Regions from separate parts of the Homo sapiens genome. Here region 1 is linked to region 2. The links are contacts of gene promoters, found by promoter capture Hi-C in human tissues and cell types (Jung and others, 2019). All regions are on one chromosome and are shown on one strand. Each heading gives the region's core, a stretch centred on a gene start or on the middle of the fragment in contact. The rest is flanking DNA. Distances are from core to core; before and after follow the strand shown. Region 1 has its middle 19 kb from the start of PMPCB. Region 2 holds the start of NAPEPLD (N-acyl phosphatidylethanolamine phospholipase D).

Region 1 (7,446 bases), core at 1,003-3,502, 130 kb before region 2:
CACAAGGACAAAAAATCAAACACCGCATGTTCTCACTCACAGGTGGGAATTGAACAATGAGAACACTTGGACACAGGAAGGGGAACATCACACACCGGGGCCTGTCGTGGGGTGGGGGGAGCGGGGAGGGATAGCATTAGGAGATATACCTAATGTAAATGTTGAGTTAATGGGTGCAGCACACCAACATGGCACATGTATACATATGTAACAAACCTGCACGTTGTGCACGTGTACCCTAGAACTTAAAGTATAATAAAAACATATATATATAAAAGCTAAATCATGAGGCATCTCTGTTTCAAAGATGATAAGATAATGCAAGAATATATTGCATAATTATATGGGCTGGAGAAAAAGCATAATTAATATGGGCTGGAGAAATGGGCTGGGGCTTGGAAGGTGACAGCATTCAGATGGGCAGGGAGAAAAGGATGTAAAAGCCAAGGGATGGCTTTTCCACATGAATAAAGGAATTCAGCAGTTATGATGTCTCAGGCTGTGGACTTCACCTGAAATGACTGAGATGGAAGATTTTGTGCCCGAGGAAGTGGGAAATTAAAGTTGAAAAGGTATATTGGGCAAATATTGAAGGCATTGGTGAGCAAGCCTAGGACTTGACTTGTGGGCCACGAACATTTTTGTGCTGTGTTGCATCAGGAAAAATTAACCTGGCCACAATGAGCCATGCTTTAGACTGGTCAGTTAGGATATGGGAGTTCAATTTGATCCATCATCAAACAGATGGAAAGTGAAGCGGTGTGGGCTCCAGCATGTGGCCCGTGACAGAGGACATGGAAAATGTCAGTGGCCCCAGTGCATCTGTGCCAGCCGCTTTGGCCTCTTGTAGGGCTGTGCGGTGACTGGGAGCTAAGCGCTCCCCTCTTAGTTGGTCCTGGCTGGTGCTGAAAGCGCTTGAGCACACCGCTCCTAGGGCTGATGACTTCTGAGGAACCTTATTGGAAAAGCATTTTCCCCTAAGATTCAGTAAACGCTGTCCCGTGCCAAGGAAGGGGCGTCAACCTGAGGCTCTGGGATCAGACCCACCAGACTCACGCCGGCTCTGCCACGTGTTGCCCGCAGTCTCGGCCCGTTCCCTCCGTGTTGGCAACGGGCACTGACTGTCCGATACCTCAGCGATCGTAGGAGAGCAGAGACGTTCCTAATGCCCGGAGCACCACCGGCGGGCCGGCGGTTCCGTTGGCTTCCCTGACACACTTCCTACAGTCATTTCTTTCAGCTGAGATCTTCCCCTTCAATACCTCGTTAATTAACGTGTAACCTTTTGGTTAAAATGTCAGAGCTAAGACTAAACGCGAAGAAAAGAATGAAACCACGGGAAGTTCTTCAGACTTAGTCGCCAGCAAGGTTATGGCCCGAAGCGGTGCAGGGGCGGCGCGCGGGGAAGCTACTGGCGGAGCTGTGCGCACTGCGGGTGCTGCAGGCGCTGGGGAGAGTGTGGAGAGGCTGCGTGGAGCTGTGCGCTCGGGGTGGGGGCTGCACTCCCAATGAAGCGCGTGAAGGGCAAGCGGTGATGGGTTCTGCGCCAGTGGGGCTGGGAGCCTGTCGGGGGCTGTACGTGAGGCTGCGCGCAAGGTGAGAACTGCGCATGTGGGCTTAGGAACTGCGCGCACCGAAGTCTGCAGGCGCTGGGGAGGGTGTGGGGGGCTGTGCGTGGGGCTGCCCTCACCGGAAGCTGCACGCTCGGGGAAGCGCGGAGGCGGGGGTGCTGCGCGCGCTGGGGAGCACGTGGGGGGACACGCAGGGACTGCCCGCGCGAATGGCTTCCAACGCATGCGCCCCACCCTACATTTCACAGTCGCCATGACGACCAGGAGGTCCGCTAGTCAACGGCTCGTCAACGGCTGCGGGGACAAGTCCGTTGAGGCTGCCAGGCGAGTCAGGCCTTTCTGGACCTCGCCTGACTCGGCTGGGCTGTGCCTGAAATTGACCCAGCTCCACTAGGAATTATGAAGAAACAAGGAGTAAGCCCAAAGCCGCTGCAATCTTCCCGCCCCAGCCCGTCTAAGCGGCCCTGCGGGGCCTCCCCCGCCCGGGAGCGGGAGGTGGAAAAGTCGGCCCTAGGCGGCGGGAAACTGCCGGGGGGCGCCAGGAGGTCCTCCCCGGGGAGGATCCCAAATCTGAAAAAGCGAAAAGGCTTGGAGCTAAAGGTGGTGGCCAAGGCCCTTCTCGGCCCCTTCCAGTTCGTCTGTAATTCCCTGGCGCAGCTCCGGGAAGAGGTGCACGAACTGCAGGCGCGGTGGTTCCCCAGCAGAACCACTCTGCATCGGTAAGGAGAGGTCAGGAGAGCCCTAGGAGGGAGGCGCATCGCGCTTTTCTTCAGTCTTGAAGGAGATCAGTTTAACAAGCAAGGGTTTGTGGGTCCCTAGTAGGAAATAATAGCAAGGTCCGAGTAGACAGAAGTTGGCCAAAAATCTTGTCATTGAACCAGGGGAGAGAGAGAGATAGGGAGTATATTGGTTTGAAGGGCTGTCAGATCGCAGAGAGTGTTTTAAGGTCTAGGAGTTTTAAAGGCTGAGGGGAAGGATCAAGGGAAGAGGATGAGATTAAGATTCCAAGAGAGGAAATAATTAGTGGAGCAAGTCTTGGAATATTTGGAAGGGTAGAATTAAAGGCACAAATGTGAGAAGCTAACTGTGGAAAAGAGGAGAGAGAATTCCTTTTCTGAGATGGCAGGGAGTAGAAAAGCAAGAATTACTATATGGAGAAATGTTAAAGTGGAGATGAAAGAAGCTGGGAGTGCTGGCGTCTAATGGTCTTTGTTTCAGTGAAGTATGAGGCTGGGTCACCTTCAGAGGTGAGATTGATAGGATGCTGGGGTCCAGGGGACATGCTTCTGTCACAGCTTGGAAAGGGCATGTGATAAGCCCTTCAAGCATTTAGAATACTGGCATCATTACACCTTATCATTTTTTTCATATGTGGTATGTGGGTTAAGGGAGGGAGTGAGAGACAGAAAGATTTTGAGCATCTTTGGAAAGCTGGATGAATTTGGTACTATATTTGACCTTTTCCTTATGTATCATCTGAAGAGTTTTTGCCAGTGTATATAATTGTTAGGAGAATTAGAAATAGGATACAAATATAGTTGAACAGGATAGTCTGTATATTTTAAAATTAATGAAGCCTAATAAACAATTAATGAGCATCTTTACAACCATTTAAAGTTTTCAACCTTTTAAAAATTATAGCAACCGTGCTTGCAGACAGTCCAAAAATACACCATGGGCCATACTTTGCCTATCCTGGTATAAAACAAGTAAATCTTCCGAGAAGTGTTTAAGATAAGCCCAGGACAGTTAGTAATATAGGAAAAGATCTGGGTAAGCATGGTTGAGAATTTCAACATTGCAATTTTTTAATTTTTAAAAATTTAATTTCTTCAATAATTATTGAATTAATTTGCATTTATTTTGTTAGCCAAGTGAAGTAATTTTTGAATTTTTAAGAGGCTATTATTGGTGGTTTATAAGATGACTTGCCAAGTATATTTGGGATAACCATAAGAAATACCATTATAAAATCTCAGAAGGGAAGTAGGACTTCTGGAATAGCCAAGGAAATGCACTCCTCCATGACGACAATGAAAATACTTGGAAAATTATCAAAATCATTTCCTTCAAAACTTTGGAAATTAACCAAAGGTTTACAACAATGTAAAGGGCATTAATTCAAGAAAAGCTGCTGAACCTCTATAAGAACAGCAAAGTTTGTGGTGTTTTAACTTGTTCTATTCCCCACTCTTCTCTCTCCAGGGGAATTGAAAACAAGGAATTCCCCAACCAAACAGGGGCACAGGCTGTGTTTGCAGCTCCTGTAAAAGCTCCATACCCAGAGCCGTGTCTCCCAGCTCCCAGGTGAAGTCTTATGTATACATGGGGCATTGGCCCAGGTGACTCCATACTAGTATCCTAGGCCATCTAGTAGCTCCTAGGTCTGGGCTCTTGCAAAAAGCTTGCAATTCATCAAGGGTTGAGCTGCACATTGGGGCTTTTAGATGTGCTGCTGAGGAAGTGATTTCCTGCATTTAATCATCTTCCGATGAATGCTAGAGAAACTGATCTAGAGTGGCTCCTCTTGGTTAGAACTAGCTGAAGCATACTGTATATACTTACTACTTTTAAAAATTTCATATAAAGGAATAGAAAATAATACTGGAAAAAAAACAAAAAAGGTCACAATCTTCCATAATTCCATCACTCTTACCAATTACCTGAAGTTAAAAAACCCTCTCAAGTTTCTCCCTTTGCTTATCAAGCCCTGCTGCAGAGAGGTAAGCTCTGTTCAGAATTTGCTTTGTGTCCTGGATTTTTTCCTATGCTCACAGAGACAGGATTAGCTGGCGGTCTTGCTTTGTGTGCTATCTTTCTAGACATGTAAAATAATACATTTGAAATACTTGTTTTAATGGTATTTTATAATAAAGCAGCTATTAATAACTTTCCTTTTTTTCTTTATTCCAGCCGTCTTTGTGGCAATTCTACATTGGTAAGATGTAGTTTCAGTTTGAAATATTTAAAAACATTTGAATTAAAAATTGCCATCACTCTTTGCATACAGTAAAACAATAACTTCTGGCTATATTTGTAGAACATCTTTATGTGCACCAATTTATACATGTATTTTGCTTTTTTACAAACCTCATATGTGAAACAGCATTTACAAAATAGATGCATTAGGGGAATAGTAACTTATGAATTAAAATATTTTTGCTTTACCAAATAATTCACCACACGTTTCTTTAAATATCTAGCTTTTCTAGTGTGTTTTGCATGTGTAGTTCATTTAAAACCTTCCTTTACTTTATGGTAATTATATGTTGCTAGTGAAATAACTTTTTTTTTTTTTTGAGACAGAGTCTTGCTCTGTCTCCCAGGCTGGAGTGCAGTGGTGTGATCTTGACTCACTGCAACCTCTGCCTCCCAGGCACAAGTGATCCTTGTGCCTCAGCCTTCCAAGTAGCTGGGATTACAGGTGTGCACCACCAGACCCAGCCAATTTGTTGTATTTTTGGTGGAGACAAGGTTTCACCATGTTGGCCAGGCTGGTGTCAAACTCCTGGCCTCAAATGATCCACCTGCCTCGGCCTCCCAAAGTGTTGGGATTACAGGCATGAGCCACCACACTCAGCCAGTGAAATAACTTTGGTGATAAAGTTTTAGTAACACCTGCCAATTGGAAATCAGGTAAAAAAGAAGGTAAAGATTCTGCAGTGGTTATATGGTTAAATGGCTCTGAGTCTTTCAGTGTGCAAGCCTGTGTACATTATTTTACAAAAGTGTTTATAAAAATTTGTAAAATAATATTTCCTTCTGAAATATTTTATTTTTACCTGTGCTCAGTGATTTCTACCCTTGGGAGGTATGAGATCTGCCCCTATGTTCTATTGACACAGTGCTGCTCTAGACATTTAGTCTGCAGGGAGATTTTGATGTTAGAACTGAGGCTGCAATGGTAGGGAATATTCCTGCAGTTTTTGGTACCCTGGCATATGGCCTACATGTAAAGAAGGGTTAGTGGAAAACAGGGTTAATATATGGAACTTTGCTTTATTTTCAACTTCACTGGAAAGTACTGACTACATAAGTTAGCTATAGCATAATTGTTGGCCATAGCTAATTTTGTTTATCACATATGCTCTTTTCTTCACTGCCTATAGCTGTTGAGTTTCACTACTAAAAGGTCTTCAAGTACACACCTGTATTCTTTGGCACTTGAAAGTTGATCTTTTATGTGATATTATACTTATTGTAAGTCTGCTTTGATCTAAAGTAATTTTATTTAAAATTATATTCTGAACCCTCTTCAACAGTTATGGAGGTATTTCCCAAGGCTGGTACATTAGAATCACTTGAAACTTAAAAAACAAACACTAACCTGCCTCTGTTCTGATTTAGAGGCCTGGGATGGAAGGAAGGGTGAAAAAAGCCACAAGAATTTTAGATATACAATTAAGGTTTTTTTTTGTTTTTGTTTTTTTGAGACAGAGTCTCTATCTGTCACCCAGGCTGGAGTGCAGTGGCATGATCTCTGCTCACTGCAACCTCCACCTGCTGGATTCAAGAAATTCTCCTGCCTCAGCCTCCCTAGCAGCGAGGATTACAGACATGCACTACTATGGCTGGCTAATTTTTGTGTTTTTAGTAGAGACGGGGTTTCACCATGTTGGCAAGGCTGGTCTCGAACTCCTCACCTCAAGTGATCTGCCCGCCTCGGGCTCCCAAAGTGCTGGGATTACAGGCATGAGCCAACGTACCCGGCCACAATTAAGCTTAAAAACCACTGAGTTAAGGAATTTCAGGTGTGTGCCATACTGGATTATAAATGCCGAAAAACATACAAGTTAGTAAGCAAATTATAAAATTAATATTATAACAATTTATTGTTTTCTTTTTTATGGCTTTCTTATTGTTTATTTTACTGTTAGTTTTGAAACTTGTTCTTATTTTAATATGATTCTTCATTTTTTTCTAGGTTACATTTAGTAACACTTTTTGAAAATGATCATCATTTCTCTCACCTCTCATCTTTGGAACGGGAGATGACTTTTTGCATTGAAACGGTTAGGTTTCTTCTTCTAACGAATTAATTTGTGGTTTAAGAATAGCCAGACCGAGAGGTGACAGCATGCTGGCAGTCCTCAGAGCCCTTGCTTGCTCTCGGCACCTCCCCTGCCTGGGCTCCCGCTTTGGTGGCATTTGAGGAGCCCTTCAGTCCCCCACTGCACTGTGGGAGCCCCTTTCTGGGCTGGCCAAGGCCGGAGCCCACTCCCTCAGCTTGCAGGGAGGTGTGGAGGGAGAGACACGAGCGGGAACCGGGGCTGTGTGCTGCACTTGCGGGCCATCTGGAGTTCCGGGTGGGCGTGGGCTTGGTGGGCCCCGCACTCAGAGCAGCCAGCCAGCCCTGCTGGCCCCGGGCAATGGGGGACTTAGCACCTGGGCCAGTGGCTGCGGAGGGTGTACTGAGTCCCCCAGCAGTGCTGGCCCACCGGCGCTGCGCTCGATTTCTCGCTGGGCCTTGGCTGCCTTCCCACGGGGCAGGGCTCGGGACCTGCAGCCCGCCATGCCTGAGCCTCCTACCCAATCCATGGGCTCCTGTGCGGCCTGAGCCTCCCCGACGAGCACCACCCCCTGCTCCACGGCGCCCAGTCCCATCGACCACGCAAGGGCTGAGGAATGCGAGCGCCCGGCACAGGACTGGCAGGCAGCTCCACCTGCAGCCCCAGTGCAGGATCCACTAGGTGAAGCCAGCTGGGCTCCTGAGTCTGGTGGGGACGTGGAGAGTCTTTATATCTAGCTCAGGGATTGTAAATACACCAATCAGCACCCTGTGTTTAGCTCAAGGTTTGTGAGTGCACCAGTCAACACTCTGTATCTAGCTGCTCTGGTGAGGGCGTGGAGAGTCTTTATGTCTAGCTCAAGGATT
Region 2 (7,635 bases), core at 5,125-7,624:
TGCTGTAGGAACAGCAGTCTTGGTGGTTAGCAGCACAAGGTAGGGTCCTTCCTAGGCTGGCTCCAGTTTTTCTTCTTTCCACCCTTTGATGATAACGTGATCTTCAGGCTGGTGCTGGTTTACCAGAAATTCTAGGGGTGGTACCTGTGCTAAAAGACTTTCAGTTTTTTTTTTTTTTTTTTTTGCGAGAAAGGAAAGTGGAAGATAAACCAAGTATATAATTTTTAAGAAAATTGACCTTTTGTTTTAAATATGGGGACCTTGGCAGTGGACTTTATAGTCCTTAGTGCTTTTTTACTGAGAAATTTCCTTTAGAACCTATTTTTATTAGTTTTTAAACCAAAGAAAGCCAAATACCATTTTACATTTAACAATGCTTCTCACATGATTTTTATACCAGATAAGCTAAATTTTATCTTTATATTAGTGTGTTATTAATGTTAAACCTAATTTTAATAAAACCTTGTAAACATATTTACTTAATTTTTTAATGTTTGACTATTAGGAAAGATTTTATAGACTCTTTAACCTTCTATAATTTTTACTAAAGAGCAGGTTGGTGCTTTAAGAAAAACCTGTTATGCTTTTAATTTACTGTCCAGTTCACAGAAAAACTGGATGATACCTCTTTAACTTTAGCTAATATGTTTACAAACAGCATTTTCTTTACAATTAACGTTTTAAAACTTGCTTAAACCTTCAAAACAATAATTCTTTTTAACTTTTTAATGTAGGTAAAAATGTACATTCTTAGGCCTCCTTATAATCCTTTTACCAAAGGTATATTTTACTTTTCTTATACACCTTGCACATAAACTGTTTTCTTTTTTTTTTTTCAACGGTTTTACATTCAGGAGGCCTAGTTACTTTTAAATTATACAACATTTTTTGCATAAATTTTTTATAACTTTTTTTCATGACTTTCGCAGACAATTCTTCAACATGCCTCAACTTTCTGACTTATTACAAATATTTCTTTCTTTAAACAACCAGTTAATTTATTTCAGGACAAGAATTTACCATATAATACTTTTTTTAATATAAATTCTGCCCCCGCTTTTTTTTCCTTAGGATACTTCTGAACTGGTGAGGTGTGATCACAATGACGTTTCCCCTAAAAGTTATTTTTTCTTCTTACCTTTTTTTTTGTTTGTTAGCAAAGCAGTTGCCGCTACAGATTGGATGCATTTGGGCCATCCACGGGTTACTGGGTCAAGGATTTTTGATAGGATGGCCTCAGTGCTTTTGGGATACGCCCTTGTTTACACTGACAACAAAGTGGTATTGAAGTGTTATAGGGTTACGGAGAATACCTTCAATTATCAATTATAGGTTTTAAATTTACCTTGGCTTTTAAAGGAATAGGGTACACTTTTTTTTTTCTCAACTACTTGTGTATCTCTCTCTTTGACTTTTCCTTTTGCCTCTGTCTCTTCTCTCTCTCTGCCTCTCTCTTTCTCTCTCTCCTTAAATCCCTCTTTGTCTGTCTCTTCCTCTCTCCCTTTGCCTCTTTTCCTCTCTGTCTGTTTCCTTTCTCTCTCTCTGCTGTTCTTTCCCTGCCTCTGCCAGCCCCTTATGCTGCTGTTCTCTCAACCACTGTGTGTTGGGGGCGGGGGTCTAAAACCAGCTGTAACCAAGTGTCTATGTACGGGAACTGGTCTAGGTTCCCCAGCTTACAGGTTACCTTGTGCCATACCTTTGAAACAAGGGACTTGTCCAGGCTTCCTTCTAATGGCCAACCTACCTCTAACGCTGGCCAGCCTAATTTACACAAAGTTTTAAATTTTCCTAGTGTCATAGTACTCCATAGTCTCCTTTACATTTTGTTCTGAAAATTTTCAACATAGTTCCTGGTAGGGTGGGCTTATTTGTGCCTGACCTATGCTTCTTCGAGACAAAACACCACACTCACGCCACACGCACACAAGAAAACAACAGGTAAAAAGGGCACACACACACTTTTGCAGTTTCCACCAAACCAAAATCAAAACCAAAATCAGAGTATCCAGAAATCCAAGCCAGGTCAAAACCAAAACCAAAGTATCAAGCAATCTAAGTAGAGTCAAAAACAAAAACCAAAGTGCGGGTACAGGTACACCGTGGGTGATCAGGCGACGCGTCCACTCAAATGGAATAGGCAAGTTCCCAAGACCAATCCTGTCAAGCTATTCAAACCAAGTCAAAACCAAAACCAAAGTGTCGATAAAGGCATGCTGTGGGTGATCAGGCCACACTTCCACTCAAATGGAGTGGGCAAGTTCCCAAGACCAGTCCTGCCAAGCAATTCAAACCAAGTCAAAACCAAAACCAAAACCAAAGTGCCGATAAAGGCACGCCATGGGTGATCAGGCCACGCTTCCACTCAAACAGAATGGGCAAGTTTCAAAGATTAGTCTTACCAAGTTTTAGATGTCCAGACTCCAAGTGCCCATTCCTTCCCGGTGTTCAGCCACTGCGTTGATTCTCCACGGGGGCCTGCCACACACTGCTGTGGTGAGGTGTCCCACCGGGGCAAATGCCTACCCGGGAGCGCTCTCAGGATCCGTGTCGCTTGGTCTGGTCACAGTCTCCCACAGGGATGTTCCACAGGACAGGCTTAAGCTGCCTAAGGAGCTGCCTCCACCATCCACCAATCACCTCGCTTCCCAGTCAGGGAACCAAGAAATGTAGCAGGACGAGCCACAGACAAAACTCCTCAGACACCGAGTTAAAGAAAGAAGGGGTTTATCCGGCCAGGGGCATTGGCAAGACTCCTGTCTCAAGAGCCGAGCTCCCCGAGTGAGCAATTCCTGTCCCTTTTAAGGGCTCACAACTCTAACGGAGTGTGTGTGAGAGGGTCGTGATCGATTGAGCAAGCAGGGGGTACTTGACTGGGGGGCTGCATTCACCCGTAATTAGATCGGAACAAAACAGGATAGGGATTTTCACAGTGCTTTTCTATACAATGTCTGCAATCTGTAGATAATATAACCAATTACGTCAGGGGTCGATCTTTAACTACCAGGCCCAGGGTGTGGTGCCTGGCTGTCTGCTTGTGGATTTCATTTCTGCCTTTTAGTTTTTACTTTTTCTTTCTTTGGAGGCAGAAACTGGGCATAAGACAATATGAGGGGTGGTCTCCTCCCTTAAGAAGAGCGTCCCCAGGAGAAACAAGCTTGACCACTATGCTGTCACAGAGTTTCCTCTGACCACTGAGTCTGCCATGAAGAAGATAGAAGACAACAACACACTTGTGTTCACTGTGGATGTTAAAGCCACCAAGCACCAGATCAAACAGGCTGTGAAGAAGCTCTATGACACTGATGTGGCCAAAGTCCATGCCCTGATTAGGCCTGATGCAGGAAGAAGGCATAAGCTCCACTGGCTCCTGATTACAATGCTTTGGATATTGCCAACAAAATTGGGATCAACTTTGTTGCTGACCCAACAAAACTGGGATATTGCCAACAAAATTGGGGTCATCTAAACTGAGTCCAGCTGGCTAATTATAAATACATGTATCTTTTCACCAGGTTCATGCCTCTTTGTCAACTTCTGGTTGGGCTGGGGAGGCCATTCAAGGTACTGAGGTTGTAATAGGGCCTGGGCAAGACTCCTGTTCTACTTATCCTTTTGGAACACTCACTCTGCCACTCCACCATACTTGATCACTCCAGAGATCTTTATGACCAGAGCTAGTTGTCCTAAGAAAACCAGAACTTGTCTCCATGGTAGAGGTAAGAAAACAAGAAGCTGCCGGGTGGCGGTGGCTCAAGCCTATCACTTTGGGAGGCCCAGGCGGGCAAATCACTTGAGGCCAGGAGTTCGAGATCAGCCTGGCCAACATGGTGAAACCCCATGTCCACTAAAAAGACAAAAATTAGCCGGGCATGGTGGTGGGCACCTGTAGTCCCAGCTACTCAGGAGGCTGAGGCAGGAGAATCTGGGAGGCAGAGGTTGCAGCGAGCCAAGATCTGGCCACTGCACTTCAGCCTGGGTGACAGAACGAGACTCCGTCTCAAAAAAAAAAGAAAAAAGAAGAGGCTTTACAAGAACCCCTTCTTTTATCCCTGGAAGAGGCTGTGTGTGAAACCAATGCCCACAGTTTGAAGGGCATTAGCATTCATCTTAGGGGAGTGTGGGTTGGCTGGCTTTCAGGTAGCACTTTGACCTCACACACCCATCTACTATGTCCAACTGGTCTGTCTGCTTCCCTCAGCCTTAACCAATAAAGGACAAGGACTTAAAAAAAAAGAGTGGGAGTGAGGGGAACAAAGGGCATCTTTTTTTTTTTTTTTTTTTTGAGACAGAGTCTTGCTCTGTCTACCAGGCTGGAGTGCAGTGGTGCCATCTTTGCTCACTGCAACCTCCATCTCTGGGGTTCAAGCAGTTCTACTGCCTCAGCCTCCCTAGTAGCTGGGATTACAGGTGAGCTCCACTATGCCTAGCTAGTTTTTGTATTTTTACTTGAGACAGGGTTTCGCCATGTTGGCCAGGCTGGTCTCGAACTCCTGACCTCAGGTGATCCTCCTGCCTTGGCCTCCCAAAGTGCTGGAATTACAGGCGTGAGCCACTGCGCCCAGCTTTTTTTTTTTTTTTGGGGAAATGGGGTCTTCTCTGTTGCCCAGGCTGGAGTGTAGTGGCGTGATCACAGCTCACTGCGGCCTTGATCTCCCAGGCTCAATCGATCCTCCCACCTCAGCCTCTGGAGTAGCTGGGACCACAAGGGCGGGCCATCAAGGCTGGCTACTTTTTTTTTTTTTTAATTATTATTTGTAGAGATGAAGTCTCGCTATGTTGCCCAAGTTGGTCTCCAACTCCTGGGCTCTAAGGATTCTCCTGCCTTGCCCTCCCAAAGTGCCGGGATTACTTCTCCGTTGCTTAGTCAAGAACACTATGAAGAACTTTTGAGTAGTAACTTCAACTTACCCTTTGGGTTTGTATGTATGCTGTTACTTTTTTTTTTTTCTTCTGTTGCACAAAGGTATTATTCACCTTATGCAGTTTCAGCTCCACCCAGGTGCAAGCAGCTCTTAATCACCCTTAAGTTCAGCAGCCACTCTAAGCTAGCCTGAGGAGATAAAGTCCACACTTGACATACAGTTCTTTACATTCCTCCAATGTCACACAGGCACATTCACTTTCAAAATGCAGAATAGTTTGGTCTGCATTTTTCTGCCAGTCTTATCTGCATTTAGAACCTGTGGTGGTGGTTTCTTTTTTGCCAAGATAACCCCAGGGACAAGCTTTTTTTTTTTTTTTTGACCCTGGCACACCCCAGGACTTTTATAATCTTTTTGCCCAACAACCCATTGTTGAATTTTACTTCGACATGCCTGTACTTTACTTCTTGAAACAACTAATTTCATTCTGCAGTTTAAAAAGCAAATCCAGTAAGAAACTCAGAATCACAATCGTATGCTCTTTCATAGTTATCCTAGCGTTAAAAAAGATGCAAATTTAGATGAGAACCGTGTGTACCAGGGGGCTGTGACATCATTTTAAAAGTAAACGATCACACAGTGAACAATGCCGTGCTCCCATTAATATTCAATACGTACTGTACAACATTTCAAATTAGAGTTTAGTTTCTTCGCTACCAGGATCCTAGCGCCATAGGCTGTAAGTATTCAAATGCTTCTCGACTGTGATTGAGTTGGCTATGACAGTCCGTCAATGGGTCTGCAGGATCCCATTTAGTTTTAGCAACTGTGGCTGGTGTCCAGGAATGCGTTCATGCGATCTGAAAGTAAGCCTCTGGCTTAGGACAGCGGGGGGAACCAATTTGATCTTAGGAGGGTCCCTGCAGAGTGTTTGAGTCGCGAGGCGGGCCGGGGCAGGCCGCGTGCTCCCAGGCGCTTCCTTTACCAAGATGGCTTCGGCGCCCCGGCCCACAGGGGCGGCCATCTTGGTAAGGGCTGGAGAGGCAGCCTGAAGGAGGCCACCGCTGGCCCTGCTGTCAGATTCGAAGGTCATAATAAGGGAGTGACCCGGCGACGACTCGCCCCAACGATGGCGAGGCGGCGAGAGCTGAAGCGCTGCCTGCAGCTGCTGGCGTCCTCGGCGGAGCCAGCGCGGCGGGCTCGGGTTAGGAAGAACCCGAGCGCCTGCCGCGGTCGCCCCTCCCGCTACGCGGCGGCGCTTTGCGCGGGGACTCTGTGGCCGGAAGCCGCGGAACTGAGGCGGCGCGCGCTCCCGGCCACCCCAAGCGCGAGGTGAGTCCGCACCCCCGCGCTCGCACCCCGCCGCTCTGGCCGCGCGCCCGCGGCCCGGGATCCCGAGTGTCCGGAGCTCCGTGGTTTCTGTTGGACCTCGCGGGAGGCGGTTTTCTCCCGCCTGCTGTGCTCTGTGACCTCTCTGCTGCCTCCTCCACGGTCTCTGGGCGGAGCAATCCACACTGCTGAGCCTGGGGTGGTTTGGAATTCTTCGGCGAAGTGGAGCGGGCTGAGAGTGGGTTTCCCGTCCCCGAGCCCTCCCTCATCTCGGAGATGCCGCACTTGTGAGCGACAGGGCTTCATTTGAATTTTCGCACCTCGCGAGTTGCGGAGCCTGCATCTCTGAAGCTGCCTCGGTGAAGAGCCACAGCATTATTTTTTTTCTCTTTGGGAGAGTAGCTGTCTGGGATTTGAGATCCTATCTTCCCTGCAAATTACCAGGTTGCATCTTCACTGATAGGAATACATGTGGGTTTATCTTCTTTTGGTTGTATGTAAATGAATGGGTCGACAACTTCCTCCGAGCAACTTATTGTTGCTTCATCTATAGTGTTTATCTTCTAAAAATCCATTCCAACAGGTTTCTCCCCTTTTATTTTGGAATAAGTGTACTTATTTAACTATGGAATGGAAATGAAGAGCAAAAAAAAAAATGGGGCTAGCTGGGGAGGGGTGGTGGAAGGCTGTGCTTTCTTGAGTTTTCTGTTCTGTGGTTGTTTGCTTCTTATAAATTGGGTATTATTGTGGGCTTTTCAGAACACGTATTCAGATAGGTTTTTGTTGTTGTTGTTTTGTTTGTTTGTTTTTTCCTTTTTTTTTTTTTTCAAGCTAGAGCTCGATATGGTAGATACTCTTCCATGGGTTCCGGGATCACATGCATTCATTATACGTCAGTTAAACCTGGAAAATATTAAGGGAGTGAGTAAAGTTTAACAGCCTTTTAAAAAGTCATTTAGTTCTTGTCTTTGCCTTTACTGTACGTTGTTATATATACATGTTATAATATGACTGACTCACCTGGTTGGCTTTGGCTTAGCATGAAATGTTTGCTACTTGATAATTCTGATTAATTTGTCCAGGAAGTCATTCCTGAGATGCAGTTCTTCAAATTGAGAAATAATTCCCATGTTTGTTAAAAAATGGAAATCTCTAACATTTCCATTTCTATTTTCAGTTACATTGGTTATGAATTAGCCGCAGACATGGACATCGTTTAGAAAGAAGTTATGTAATCTTTAAAAAGAAGATTACCTATATCCCACAATAGTGTGATTTTTGTTGCAAGAAAATACTGGGTCTGTTAAAGAAGAAATTTAGGGTAAAAGTACTTATTTAAAATAATAATTTAAGGAGAGATTGAGGGGTTAAATTTGTTTCAAGTCAACTGAAAATATAGTCAGGATTTTCAGAGATTTTGTTTTGTTAACATTCTGCAGGCTTT

The links. Contacts are between HindIII fragments. The study calls those that stand out against the background at their distance.
Region 1: a contact is called between a fragment that was not itself captured here and the fragment with the promoter of NAPEPLD in region 2, in 1 of the 25 tissues and cell types used here (hippocampus).

The regions. Positions count from the first base shown.
Region 1 is chr7:103,274,677-103,282,122 of GRCh38, reverse strand. It overlaps the pseudogene DPY19L2P2. Among named protein-coding and RNA genes, the nearest start is that of PMPCB, 19 kb to the left of the region's middle. RefSeq lists enhancers at 1,004-1,525, 2,245-2,294 and a silencer at 1,635-1,784. The HindIII fragment of the contact is 9,582 bases long and covers 1-7,043 here.
Region 2 is chr7:103,147,838-103,155,472 of GRCh38, reverse strand. It overlaps NAPEPLD (N-acyl phosphatidylethanolamine phospholipase D), which reads left to right and starts at 6,374. Exons shown (of 5, transcript NM_001122838.3): 1 at 6,374-6,662. LOC105375434 reads right to left here. Exons shown (of 3, transcript XM_047421168.1): 2 at 4,909-6,455. The coding sequence ends at 5,653. It also overlaps the pseudogene RPL23AP95. The HindIII fragment of the contact is 5,120 bases long and covers 4,191-7,635 here.